Linked DNA regions of Homo sapiens: regions 2 and 3 are each linked to region 1. The links are contacts of gene promoters, found by promoter capture Hi-C in human tissues and cell types (Jung and others, 2019). All regions are on one chromosome and are shown on one strand. Each heading gives the region's core, a stretch centred on a gene start or on the middle of the fragment in contact. The rest is flanking DNA. Distances are from core to core; before and after follow the strand shown. Region 1 holds the start of PTX3 (pentraxin 3). Region 2 overlaps VEPH1 (ventricular zone expressed PH domain containing 1). Region 3 overlaps VEPH1 (ventricular zone expressed PH domain containing 1).

Region 1 (4,733 bases), core at 875-3,374:
ACATGCTTCTTCCCCCTCCCCATCCAGCAAAAGTTGTTTTCTTGGAAATACAGGGAAGGATTCTCAGGAAAAGTGCAAGTTATATTTTCTTACCTAGGACACTGATTTTCTAATACAATCCAAAATGATTGTCACACCACCATTTCTTAGAAGTTTTGGCATACAAAGGAGTATTGATTGGCTCCAAATCTTCTATTTCTTTCTTTTAACCATCTTTAGAATGTATTATTTTGGGAACCCATGTCTGTTTGGAGATTCATGGAGTGTCACATGGGACTTTGAGAAGTTGCCTGTGGTTTGAACAGTCTCTCTCCTGCTTGGCCCCAATTCTCTGAATCCCTGGGGTGGAGCTGGGATCCCCTACACGGATTGGCTCCTACACCTGACTGTTCCACGCTGAATCCCAAACCGCACACCCTCCGACCTCCCCTGTCGCGCTAATTCCACAAACCCCGGGGGCTGGGGGACCCCTGAAGAATTCCGCTGACCCTTCGGGAGATTAGCTTTAGCCTCAAGTTTCTTGCTGAGAATGGGTGGGCGGAGAGGAGGGGCCGGCTGAGGGGCTGGAAAACATCCCTAAACGTTAGCCTGGGCCCTGAAATAGTGCGGGAAACCAGAGCTCCTCTAAAGACAGAGGCAGGATAAAATTAGAAGACGTGGAAATCCCTAACGGAGGGAAGCTGGGCGGCAAGAGGGATCACGGTTATAACGGGCCAGTGGACTCCTGCAGCGCTTAGTCGGATCGGGTGTAAGGGGCCCTAGACGTCTATTTCAAGACTGTGATGGTTACCTCCACAACTCTCTTTAGGGCTCCTTAGGACTGAGGAATACTTTTTTAAAGCCAATTTTCCCGCCTTGTATGGTGTGCCTGAGCTCTGTGACCGCGCATGCAGAAATAGGGGTGTGTGTGTGTGTGTGTGTGTGTGTGTGTGTGTGCGCGCGCGCGCGCGCGCTTCCCATGAAAGCTTCCCCTAGAAGGTTGCCTGGCTTGGCTTGCCGTTACGCGCGCTCCCGGAACAAAGCCGCAGTGGGAGGTCCCGGCCCCGCTTGCCTCCTTACCTGCCGGCAGCCAGCTCCGGGCAGCCCAGCCCTGCACCGCGTGCAGGTCGGCTCGCGTCTGCCGCAGCTCCTCTAGCACCGCGGCCAGGGCGCGCCCCGCCTCCTCTGGGCGCTGCGCCTCCGCGCCCTCCATACGCGCCAGCCTGCGGCCCGCGTCGCGGGTCGCCTGCAGCAGCTCGTCCAGAGCACTGGTCAGCCTGGCCTCTGCGGGAGCCCCCGGCGCGCACGGCCTCGCCAGGCTTTCCGCGAGCCGGCCCAGCTCCTCCCGCAGCCTCTGCAGCTCGCCCCGCAGGACGTCGTCCGTGGCTTGCAGCAGCATGCGCTCTCTCATCTGCGAGTTCTCCAGCATGATGAAGAGCTTGTCCCATTCCGAGTGCTCCTGACCGCAGGCGCACGGCGTGGCTAGAGTACGGGATACACACACGTTAGCAGCCCGCCCAGGCCTGCCTTGGATGTGCTTTGTAAAAGCTGACCTCCCTCGGTGGTGCCAAGTTGCAGCCCGTTCCTGGCATTCCCCTTCCCTTTAAGGACACCTCCGAAAAACAGCATGTAAATGTCTCAGAAACGACAGAAATCATTCATTCAGGTATAGATTAAGTTGTACCCTATGAAATCGCCGGTTATGTAGCTCAAAACAGTCAAATATTGACGATTTGATATGATTCAACCCATTATGTACGTTACAGAAATAACTTTGAAACCTCCATCTTTCTTCAAGTGCTTCTCACTTTTGCATAACAAGCTATAAATTTTTAACTTGTCTCACTGGCCACAAAGTATATGTGTGTTATTTAGACCAAGAGGTGGATATGTAGTCAGGGTTAGCAGAGAAACAGTTAAAGTGAACTTACGGTCCTCAGTGGGATGGAGTCCATTGTCTATTTCGTTGTCCAAATTCACATACATGAGATCATAATCATCCGAGTTCTCGGCCAACACTGCAGACCAGAGAGCACAAAACAGAATCGCAAGGAGATGCATTGCTGGAGAGACGCAAAGTTCTTTCCACAGCTGGCGGGAGGAGACTCTCAAGTGAGCTGAGTTTGAGCGGAGGAGAGTGAGAGTGAGAGGCTGGAGCAGAGAGTCCTTAATAAATGCTGAGGAAAGCCTGAATGGGGATGAATGAGTAATGCTGGTGGCACTGCGGTAACGGGAGTTCCCCTGAATTTGGTGGGGGAGGGGGCTGGGTGGGAGAGCGAGGGAAATGTGGAAGTTGCACAATATTAAACCGCAAAGGTTTACGCTGCAGTCAGATTAATTGGAGGAGGGTCAGAGGGGAAAGAGGAGAGAAACTGGGCTTCTACTGTTCTCCTGAGAATTAGCTGTTGTAATTTGAATTGATAGCAATGGGGATGAAGGAGGGGTGGTAGGGGAGAAATTTCAGAGGGTACTGAAGCAAATCATCATTTCAGCATTTTCTGTGAGCTGTTATTATTTCACAACCCTTTATATATAGAAAACTTTCCATGTTTCCTTTGTACACTGTTTTACAGGTTGAAACTGAAAATGGTCTGATTCCAAGATAAACCAACATATTAAGAATAGTTATGGCTCTGAAAGTCAAGTCCAATCCGAGCTATCTTGTCTTTAATACTTGAGGAGTTGCACCTATACTTTTATAGATAATTTTTTTTTTTGAGACTGAATTTCGCTCTTGTTGCCCAGGCTGGAGTGCAATGGTGTGATCTCGGCTCACTGCAACCTCCGCATCCTGGGTTCAAGCGATTCTCCTACCTCAGCTTCCCAAGTAGCTGGAATTACAGGCACCCGCCACCACACCCAGTTAATTTTTGTATTTTTAGTAGAGACAGGGTTTCACCATGTTAGCCAGGCTGGTCTCGAACTCCTGACCTCAGGCGATCCACCCGCCTTCGCCTCCCAAATTGCTAGGATTACAGACGTGAGCCACCTCACCCGGCCTATGACAAACAACACAGTACAACTGGGTAAACCTAGAATGGGGAAAAAAAGCTGGGGGAAAAAAGGAATATACTTATTTAGTTATTTAGGTATGTTTCTTTTCATAACTTGGTATTATGTGGACATTATATTATTCTACAAGGTTTCGAGGCAAGGATCATGTTTTAAAAGTAAACTTAGAGATTTCTGCTTCTAACAATATATACAGGTCTGTGTTCACATGATATTAATAAAAACTTAAAAGGTACAGATGAGCTCCCATTAAAGTAAGGGGAAAATCCCGGAGCCAAAGATAGAGAGGAAAGCAAAAACAACAATCCCATGAGCTGATGCTAGGGCCCCTCTGGCATAGGAGTGAAGTGAGATAGGGGTTATTAGTTCTATAACCACCAAATGTTGATGACCATGTGGAAGCAAAGCTTAGGCCAAAGGTGGAGAGTTAGAAGGGAGATCCTCATGAAAGCCAGGACCCTCACAGGGTTACCTACTGTATTTCAGTAGGTACAATCCCACTCTGCCCTAGCACAAAGAGGTAGGAAGCAATCATGTCTCTCTTTGAACTCTACAAGGTCCCTTTGAGTTTGTGAAATTGGGCCTGCCCTCAGATATGTTTAGAATTCAAATATATACTATCTGCCACTGTGAAAACAAAAAAGAATTCACAATGATATTTGAACATATGAGGAAGCAAACCACTATAAATGAGAATCAGCAGAAACCAAAAAGGATTAGACACCTCTCCCCAAGAACTGCATTTAGTTGAAATATCAGCCAAAAAACTAGAAAATAAATATGTTTAAAACTACTGAAGCTCTAAAAGAAGGAATTGGAAATATGAGAAAAGAATAAGACATTGTCAAAAAGAAAAAGGCTAGGTGATTTTTTTTAAAGAACCAAATAAAACTTCTAGAATTAAAAAAAAAAGTTAATTGAAAATTTTAAAAGCTCAAGGCATGGATTAAGTGGCAAATTAGGCAAAGCTGAAAAGAATATTAATGAACTGGAAGACAGATATAAGGAAATAATCTAAAATGTGCTGCTTTTATGTTCAGTAATAGGATTCTAAAATCATTTCATTGTTCAGGAGGACGAAAAAGAAATTAATTAATTTTGCTTTGCTCAAAAATATTTGTTATAAGTTTAAGGACAACTACCAAATGGACATAGGCATCCGAATAGAAGGTGCAGGGGGAATTTTTAAAGAAAGACTTGATCTATGAAAAAAAAATTAATGAAGGAGGAAAGAAAAGCACAGAGAAGGATAAGTTAAAAGTACAATATTATTTGCTAAAATTAAATCAAAATATACCAATAATTACCATAAATATTAATGAAACACATTTTCCAGTTAAGAGACAAATATTTCTATTTGTCATATAGAAATATTTTAGTCGGGGCTCACGTTCAGAATCCCAGTACTTTGGGAGGCCAAAGTAGGAGGATCACTTGAAGCCAGGAGTTTGAGACCAGCCTGATCAACATAGCAAGACCCTCATCTGCACAAAAAATTTAAAAATTAATCTGGTGTGGTGATATGCACCTGTAGTCTCAGCTACTCAGGAGGCTGAGGCAGGAGGATCACTTGAGCCTGGGAAGTGGAGGCTGCAGTGAGCTGTGATCACACCACTGCGTTCCAGCCTGGGCGACAGAAAGAGACCCTGAAAAAAAGAAAAGGAGAGAGAGAGAGAAGAAATATTTTAAAAATCCAGCTATACATCACTTACAAAAGCTATGCATAAAACATAAAGTAGAAA
Region 2 (4,363 bases), core at 1,212-3,711, 64 kb after region 1:
TGGAGGGCCAGTAATACAAATGCCCAGACATCAGTTCATTAAGTTTCTCTTAATTTCTTCTTTTAATCTAGTCCAGTGAATCTCAAATTTCAATGTGGATAAGAGTTACAGTTTTCACAGTATTTCATGGATAATTCAAAAGAATATTAAAGGAATGTCAAGGGTAACTTTTGCCTATTCCTCCCCAAAGAGGTACCCCACTAACCTTTACCATCACCTTCTAGAATGCCCTCTTTGTGCCTCTCTTCCCATTGAAAGCTGGCATTCAGAACCAAGACTCCAGTTTGGTACTACTTCTCCATGAGGCCTTTTCCACCCACCATCACACATAGTGATCTGTGCTTTCCTCTGAGCTCCCACAGTTCATACAACCTTTCCACCTCCCAGCACATGCCATCCTGGCCTGGAGTATTAGGTGTCCTTCTGTGTCCCTCTACTCTTCCACAGACTTGAAGAGCTAGTATTCACAGCCCATGCTCTATGGAAGGAAAAATAAGGTCTTAAAGTGTTCACAAGAACTTCCACATTTTTAGGTAAGACATGTTCGTACAAAGAGAAATTAATTCTTTGAAAGCAGCTGTTGGTTCAGGGAAGGTACACGAGTCAGTTCAGAACCATAATTAAAAACATGGGACATTCTGGTCAGCATTGCCCCCTGCTTAGGAAAAGCTGACTATAATTTTGCCCCACCAAGGTAAATTTTAAGAATGAAACAAGAGTTTTGATAGGAAACGAGTATCTCTTTTCAATCTAGAGAGGTCTATGGTGATCACTTGTGTAAAAAGAAAATCATAACAGCCATTTGTGGCAGTAGCTGTGGCTGTTGTTACTCCTCTGTGCATGGAAAAGGAAGGAAAGGCTTCGGTTTTGGGCCCGTCTTCTTACTGAAGAGGTTAAGTCTGACATGTGGTACCATTTATGTTCCAGCTGTTATTCATTTACTCCACCAGTTGTCCTCCCTTAACGCAGCATTTAGGGTGATGTGAAGGTCTTTAAAGGCATTTCAGGAATTCATCTATCAGCACGAGATGTAGGTAGGAGACATTGTTATCAGCTTTGGAGACAATGAAGCAGGCCCAGGGAGTGTGAGACCTCAGACAGGCTGGCTCTGCCATGTAAGGACACAGTAGGGTAGAGACTCGGGCAGCCCCAGTATGGAGTGCGGGCAATGTAATATCAGCTTCATGGGGAACCAGGTCCATTTTCTGTAACATAGCAATGTTCAAAACACAGGGCACACAAAAAAAGAAAGCTTTTCATGAGGCACCCATGCGCTGGCTTCCCATTTCAAGCAAGACAGAGAACACCAAAGTTCTAGCCTAGGGAATGAGGAAAAAGGGTGTTTGTGGGAGAAGAGGTAAGAGGACCTTGACCCTCTACAACCCACGTGAGAGGAGGGCCAGGGTGCCAGCTGGTGCTCAGACACTTCTTCCTGGACCCTGATGACCTAGCTATTCACTATTTTGGTTCCCCAAATGCTCCCTATTCCTTTTTAGTATCTGTCATAATTGAACTTTAAAGTTGCCATTTGCATGACATTTTCTGAGTTTTGAACACCTTTTTAGTTTGTGTTAAAAGAGGGTGCCAAAATTCATTTTTCCAATTAATACAAAGGGTTGCTCCCGTGACTATATATCAACTCTATTCTGGTGTCTGATTCCCACAGGATGTTATTCAGAGATATCAGATTGTAATAACTCTTCTTGGTTACCGTGCTATATCACCAGTGCCCTAATATGTATTACTTATTCCTGGGGTAGATTCAGATGTAACCTGAATCACACCTACTTAGAGGAAGTGTGCAGAGTGGAGTGTTAAGTGAGAGCTCTGGAGGCAAACAGTTGGATTTAATGTTGGTTTAGCTAAGTGACCTTAAGTGTGCCTCAGTTTCCTCATCTGTAAATGGAGTTACTAATAGGGTCAGCCTCCCTTGATTGTGTGAGAAGCAATTCATGTACCAGATTTAGAACAGTGAAGACTATACATAGAAAGCCCTCTGTAAATGTTAATGAGTAGCATTAGCACTTTGTTACAGGTGTGCATTATAATAGGTGTTGGCATATCCACTAGACCAGTGCCCATCTGCAAACTGTTTCTTATCAGACTGTGATGAAGCGATTGCAGATATTAAAAATAAGAAAATAAGAAGTTAGAACTTTTATAGCAATTTAACATTGCTGTAATATCCAAGTACCTGATCAGTGGACGTTGTATGTCTTGTTTTATTCATTGCGTTTCTCTAGTAGTTTATTTTTGCTATTTTTACAAAAATATTGGTCTGTGACATGAAAATTTAAAAAAAAAATAGTTCTTTACTACAGTGAGTTTAAAAGCTACCGTATTAAATGTTGGATACAGCTGGACCCAGACTAAGTCTGAGAGCTCTCTTTAATACCTAATATTTTATTCCCTAAACTTTCTTCTGGGACCTAAAGGAAAGAGATTTAATAAATGAAAGGTGATGAACACACACCAGTGTGGCCATGGTTGAGATACAGCTACTCTAAGATGGGTTACAGTTGAGGAAAAATGGTTCTTAATATTATTCATATTCATCATAAAGCAAAAGATAGGCTTTTCATTAGTTGGCAGCCTGAAGGCTGTTAGATAAACTTTGCTATAGGTAAGGGCTGAATTCTAGGTAGACTAGGAATTGAATCACAGAATTTTATGTAGGAGTTCTATCCCCAGGTCAGTTATTGATGTGTTTTTGATTAAGTATATCCTCCATTTCTGGGTAACTATGTTTCTATCAATTAAAATTGGGTTACAGTATCATATTTGAGATGAAGACTATGAGAAGATGTATCAAATAGGAAAATTTTAACCATTTTTCCTGCTCTTCCAGTGTCAAATGCCAAGAGTGACAATGTCTTAGCTCTTTAATCCTCATGGCCAGACCCTATTGCTTGCTCCTGTGCCCAGACGATAAAGTCAGCCTAGACAAAGAAGAGCACATTGCCTTACAGGTCTCCCTCTTGATTGACAGTGCTTTGATGATATTCCTACTCTACGTTTTTTACAGTCCTTTATAATTTACAGAGTGATTTTGTAACTTGTGTTATATCTGGGTGGCAGTTCATTAGGATGGGGCGGCCGTCTTCTGTTAAGGCTACTGCTCACCTGATATGCCCAGTCGTCTCAGGAATCTAAAGATTCGGGGTCCATCTGAACCAGTATCTGCCAGCAGCAAAACCCGAAAATGTACCTTTACCTCGGAATGTATCCCCAAAAGGATAAAAGGCAAAGCCTACCAACTCCAAATAATCCACAGATTAAGTCTTACCTTACTACAGAATTAGTGAAACCCTCAGCAGCCTTGCTTGAGGAAAAAGGCCTCTGCCCTGGTCCACTTCAGATTCTCTTATTTCATTGTCTGGGCCATCGCTTCTCAAAATTTGAACGTGTCACTGGACACCTGGGGACCGTATTAAAGTGCACATTCTGATTCAGTAGATCTGGGATCAGAACCTGAGATTCTGCACTTCTGACAAGCTCCAAGGTGATGCTGATGCCGCTGGTCCAGGGATCTCACTTTGAGTAGGAAAAGCAGGGGCTTTGCACTTTTTGCTGATCCCTTTTCCGTGTCTTATTCTCTCCCATGTTGGTTAAATAACTGAAAAGTGAGCAAATGATTGGGCATCTGAATTAGAAGTGTCCCTTCCTTGTATCATGGCTTTTATATTTTCATTCTAATTTCAGGAAATTCTGTCTGCAGTTGCTCAGAATTCATATTTCAAGTACAGGGATTTATTTTTAATTGGCCATTTCTATATCCCAGTTCTTGTATGCTCATGGAGTAGGAGAGTCCCTCTCTTTTAGTACGCACTGTTTAAGATACTGCAGTAAGAGGAGGGATTTTATAGTCCTCCCTGGCTTTGAGCAGGAAAAGCATATCTTCTAGGATTGGTAACACTTGCGCAAACCTCCTTCTTTCAGTGTCAAATGTCCACATTAAGCAGCAGCCACTCAGGGTTTTACCATGCCTTGAATTTTTCATGCCCATTCTATGTGAGCAACACTGTCAAATCCAGTATCTTATACAATGCTTTCAGCAATCTGATGATGTAATATCAATCCCATTTTTATATAACAAAAATAAAACTTAGAGTCCTTAAGAGTTTTATAGCATCACTAATAAACATGAAATTGGAGTTATGAACCTAAGCTTTTCCCCATAAGATTCTGTTCAGTCAGTTTCCCCCACAACTGTCTCCTTTTGAAAACTCTTTTAAAATTTTGTGTAAATGAAGTAAACCATGGAGTTATTTCATTTTAGCAGAGTTCTACCATTGGCATGATCACATTCTGATCCCCACATAACTAGGTACCTGCCCATCTCTGCTTTTGCCCACTGAGCAGG
Region 3 (4,980 bases), core at 1,245-3,744, 100 kb after region 1:
AGCGGTAAGCAGTGCCCAGGTAATACCATTGTGGTCCAAGAGAGGTGCCATATAGGAAGCATTTTATCCAGTTCTGCTGAGGTCTTCTAAGCATCATTGGAGGGGCAGCAAATGGTTCCTCAGTAATGCTAGGTTATAATCTGATGCAGTCACTGTCTGAGTTGGCACCCTTAGCTCATCTGTAAAACTCAAAGTAATTGGTTTTGGGGGAAAGGGGCCCTAACTCTAACTGTAAATATATTGGTATTCAGACGACTTAGACAAGAATAGTGCCAACAATAACTAGCAGTTTAACATTCACTGCTTTTACTGCTATTAAGCTATTCTGAAACCCTTTCCCTCTAGCCTGCTTTCTAAGACCCAAAGGAAATATTCGCAGTATTTTCAGTCACTCTTAGTACTCATTGATGAGGAGCTATCATGTAAGGAAGGAGTAGAAAATGAGAAGACAAGAAATGCCAGAAGGAGGATTCTACGATGCTGATTTGCATGTCAGGGTCTCGGTCCAGGAAGGAAACAGCAGGCAGAGGGAGGCTGGTAGCCATGGTGCCTAGTGGGCTATGTAGTGACTCACTCCACCGCCCTGCATGAGTCCAGCAAACAAAGGCAGTGTGTTAGGAAATGGTGTGCTTGATTGTAACAGATGCAAACTTCAAGGGTCACTGGAGTCACATATAAGAGGCTTCACTAACTCGGAGCCAATAACTCCCATCTTTTTCCCAGCAGAATATTTGGAGAATTGATGAGAAAAAAAAAGTACGCATAGTTGACTGATTTCTTTTTTGTAGAGATGGACACTTTTTGTACTCTATTCCTTCTTCTGTCCCACACTAGACACTATTTATATTCAGATCCTATATGCTGTATTCAAAGGGGAAAACATTTGGTCTTCTTGGGTTTTTACTACCACTATTCCATGATTGTCTTTCCTTTGATTTGACTACCTTTCTTCATAATAAATCTTCCTGTCTTCTCCCTCTCTTTGTTGTTCTCCTTTCCTGTCTCAGTTTTCTGTATTTGCATTTCCTTATCCCATGCACATTCCTTTCCTTCTTGTGGGGAGTTGTTTTTTGTTCTTTGTTTTTGAGATAGGGCCTCCTTGTTGCCCAGGCTGGAGTGCAGTGATGCAAACACGGCTCACTGAAGCCCCAACCCTCAGGCTCAAGCCATCCTCCCACCGCAGCCCCCAAAGTAGCTGGAACTACAAGCACAGGCCACTACACCCAGCATTTTTTTTTTTTTCATAGAGATGTGGTCCTACTATGTTGCCCAGTGGTCTACTGTATTTGAGAATGTCAAAGAAAAAAACACCTCCCAATTTCCCAGTGCCAACACACTTTGGGCTTTTTGACAGCAGCTTTTTGGAGATAATTTCATTGACTCTGAGCATTATAATATTGATGAAGGTGATAGATAATTTTAAAAAGGTGAACAAATTATTTTATTTAATCCTGGTGACAAGTCTGTAGTGTAGTTAGCACTGTCCTCATTTTATGAATGAGAAAATAGAAAGGCGAATAACCTGTCCAAGGTAATATGGCCAGTAGAAGGCAGAATCAGGACTTGGCCCTGGCTCTATGATCTTGCCACTGCTTCTTTATCCCACACTGCCTTCTCGGACATGCCATTCTCATCCCCACCTCCATGCCTTTACCCAAACTCTTGCTCCTCTAGGTGCCCGCTATTTTATTTATCTAGGCCTAGCATTCATCAGGGCTAGCCTATTTCTTACTTTCTACACCCCCGTGATTCCCAGTACTTCTCATTTGGCACTTGATCATGGATTGCTCTTTTTAAATATTCATATACTTCTGACATCTCTTTTTTAAGCTGTAAAACTCTGAATCTTTTTATAGTTTTAACACTCAGCCCAATGTCTCATCCTTGGTAAGTCCTCAGAGTATTTGTTAATGATGGTGATGCTGGTAGACATTTCCCCAGTGCAGGATAACAAATGAAATCAACCTTCCTCAAGCTTAATGGCTGTTCATGTTGTTACAGCAGCTGCATTAATGACAAGTAATCTGTAACATTTTTCAGAACTTGTACTCTAAGAGTACAATTAGCCACATGAAAATGCCTTCCTCAGAGGCTTCCAGTCTTACCTGTAGCCTGAAGAACTGAATTTCCTTAAGACTAGAATTATTTTCTAAAATTGGCTTTCAAATTCATGGTATATCCCGAGAATTGGCTGCACAAAATTAGTTGCTTTCTATTCAGTAACACCTCATTTAGCAGCAGTGACTGAAATAAAATGCCCCCTAACTTTCTCATGTCAGCCACATGATCATGAAGTCAACAGGGAATAGACGGTTGGCATCTTAGGAAAGTCAGGCTTAGTTAGTAGTTGCTAAAGGCCACTTCTAACAGGAGCGTCAATGAGTTTGATACACACTACGTGGAGTTGATATACACTATGTGGAGGTCCTATATACCCTGCACCAACATATCGGACATAATAAACCTCCTGGTAAATACATATAACTCTCCCATGAGTGTTCTTCTGATGCCTGATGGTGGCCAGCCCAGAAGGTCTTAGTTCAGAACTGCCAACCAGAGAGAGCAATGCAATGGGTGACTCACATATACATGATCTTAGGCTTATCCTTCCTTCCTCTGGGGAAAAAAAAATGTAAACGGACCCATTTTAGTGGAGTTTATTAATAGAATTTCCTAAAATTTTCTGTGCCCTATATCTGGTTACTGTTATGCATTTTGCAGAGTTGCAAAGTAATTGGTAGCACATGGAATGGTACCTGCAGGGGATCACGGCTTGCCTGCCTTATTTGCCTCTGTACAACTTTTGATAAATCTGTGCTTGGAAGAGCCAAGTGTTTATTTCTACCATATGGGCTTCCACTGACTCAGTGTGACCACAAAGTGGCTCTGTATTGTTGCCAGAAATCAACTACATTAGTGTCATGCAAATATATAGAGAGGTATGTGTGTGTATTTGATTTAAAATTCATGTAAATTCCAAAATTACTTTCATGTCTAGAAACTGTGCTAACTCCTCTGAAAATATCCCAGATTCCTTTCTGATCATGTTGACATTGACTACTTTGTATTCTTAATGTTTGGACATCTAACTTGTATTTGGCAACCATCAAGAGTACCTGGTAGGAAAAAGTTGAGGTCTTCCGAGTGAACTTCCCCTGGCGGATTTTGTGATCGGATAAGCACTGCAAAACATTCCTCATCCCAGAACTGAGTGACACTCATCACTTATTGGAAGGTGCATTCTTCCTAGGGAATACCAAAAATTCACTGGAGAACTAAAAGTATCAATATAGTCATTTAAAGATAAGTTCAATTTTCAGTTAGTTTCATAATTTATATTTTTCATTATTCCTACTTTGGGAAGTATTACTGGCCAAATTCCTGGAAATATCAGAAACAACATTGAAATCAATCCAAAAATATGAACAGCATTGCCACAATAACACTTTTCTGTAATTGTAAGCAGTCAGCCACCCAATCAGAAATGATCCTGATTTGAGTATTGTTTGTAAGCACTGCTCCTCATCTGTGTGTACAATCAGGTGACTGGAAAAGTGATGGCAAATGTCACTCTTCAGATTCACCTCCTTCATAATTAATATGACAGTTTTATTTTTAAGTTTGGACATTGTAAGAATAAGGAAATAATTATTTTAAAATATATGACCATTCCTTACAAGTTGAACACAGAATTGCCATGCCACCCAACAATTCCACTCTTAGGAATATACTCCAAAGAATTGAAAACAAGTGTTCAAACCAAAACATGTACTTGAATGTTCATAGCTGCACTATTCACAATGACCAAAAGGTAGAAACAACTCAATTGTCCATGAATGAATGAGGAGGCAAATGAAATGTAGTATATTCATATGATGGAATGTTATTTAGCCATGCAAAAAAAATGAAATACTGATGCATGCTACAACATGGATGAACCTTGAAAACATCATAATAAGTGAAAGAAGCCAGACACAGAAGGCCACTCATTATATGATTCCATTTATATAAAATATCCAGAATAGGCAAATCTATAGAGACAAAATGCAGATTTTTGGTTGCCAAGAGCTAGGAGGAGGGGAAATGAAGAATAATTGCTTAACAGATGTGGGGGTTCCATTTAGGGTGATGGAAAAGTTCTAGAACTAGATAGTGGTGATAGGTGTACAACATCATAAATGTACTTACTGCCACTGAACTGTACACTTTAAAATGGTCAAAATGGTAAATTTTATGTTACATGTATTTTACTGCAATAAGAATTTGTTTTAAATATATGACTACATATTCTGTGATAAACTCCATACTTAATATGCAGCATATCCTCCACAAATAAACACATACAATTAGTGTAATTATGGAATGGTCTGGGTTAACCCTTCTATGCCAGCAGTAGCCGCAAGCACCATGTACTGGGCAGTATTTTAAATGTTTTATTTGACCCTGTAAGGTACATATTACTATTCCCAAATTGTGAAAGTGGAAACTGAAATATAGAAAACAAAATTTGCTTAAGATCACATAACTGGCAGACCTGAGATAGACCTGAAATTTGAGCCCAGGTTGTGTAGCAGCATGGTGTTTCCTATTAGCCCCTGTACTGTGGGCTGAGCTGACCTTGTCCTGTGATAATAAAGCTTATGTACAATGGAAGTGTGCTCTCAGCTCTCAGAACAATGTTGATAAAGTTTCAGACCTTAAAGAACAGACCATTGTTATTCAAATCTGCAAGTACAACCATATTTCTATTTATCTTATTATTTATTTGCCTGATTATCATTGAACATACACAAACCATGAAAGAGCTGCAAGAAGTGTAATTCTCTCTCAGTGCAAATTTACTGTGCTATGCTAGGCTATTGCCCTGGCCAGAGGTGTCCTGCGGTCCTCTGCAGTCATCTTCTGTTGGAAGAAGAGTTAAATCCAATTTCTCAAATATATCCCGCTCTCCCTGTCTTTCATTCCTGGTGCTAGATTTAG

The links. Contacts are between HindIII fragments. The study calls those that stand out against the background at their distance.
Region 2: a contact is called between a fragment that was not itself captured here and the fragment with the promoter of PTX3 in region 1, in 6 of the 25 tissues and cell types used here (H1 embryonic stem cells, IMR-90 fibroblasts, bladder and 3 more).
Region 3: a fragment that was not itself captured here is called in contact with the fragment with the promoter of PTX3 in region 1 in 3 of the 25 tissues and cell types used here (H1 embryonic stem cells, IMR-90 fibroblasts and hippocampus).

The regions. Positions count from the first base shown.
Region 1 is chr3:157,434,241-157,438,973 of GRCh38, reverse strand. It overlaps PTX3 (pentraxin 3), which reads right to left and starts at 2,124. Exons shown (of 3, transcript NM_002852.4): 1 at 1,911-2,124; 2 at 1,060-1,461. The coding sequence starts at 2,040. The region is part of intron 4 of VEPH1 (ventricular zone expressed PH domain containing 1); the gene reads left to right. The HindIII fragment of the contact is 4,814 bases long and covers 1-4,074 here.
Region 2 is chr3:157,370,656-157,375,018 of GRCh38, reverse strand. All of the region lies in intron 7 of VEPH1 (ventricular zone expressed PH domain containing 1), which reads left to right. It overlaps LOC101928236 (a long non-coding RNA gene), which reads right to left. Exons shown (of 10, transcript XR_007096141.1): 8 at 3,287-3,616. Among named protein-coding and RNA genes, the nearest start is that of PTX3, 64 kb to the left of the region's middle. The HindIII fragment of the contact is 3,862 bases long and covers 531-4,363 here.
Region 3 is chr3:157,331,500-157,336,479 of GRCh38, reverse strand. All of the region lies in intron 9 of VEPH1 (ventricular zone expressed PH domain containing 1), which reads left to right. LOC101928236 (a long non-coding RNA gene) reads right to left here. Exons shown (of 10, transcript XR_007096141.1): 7 at 3,117-4,980. Among named protein-coding and RNA genes, the nearest start is that of PTX3, 100 kb to the left of the region's middle. The HindIII fragment of the contact is 7,357 bases long and covers 1-4,980 here.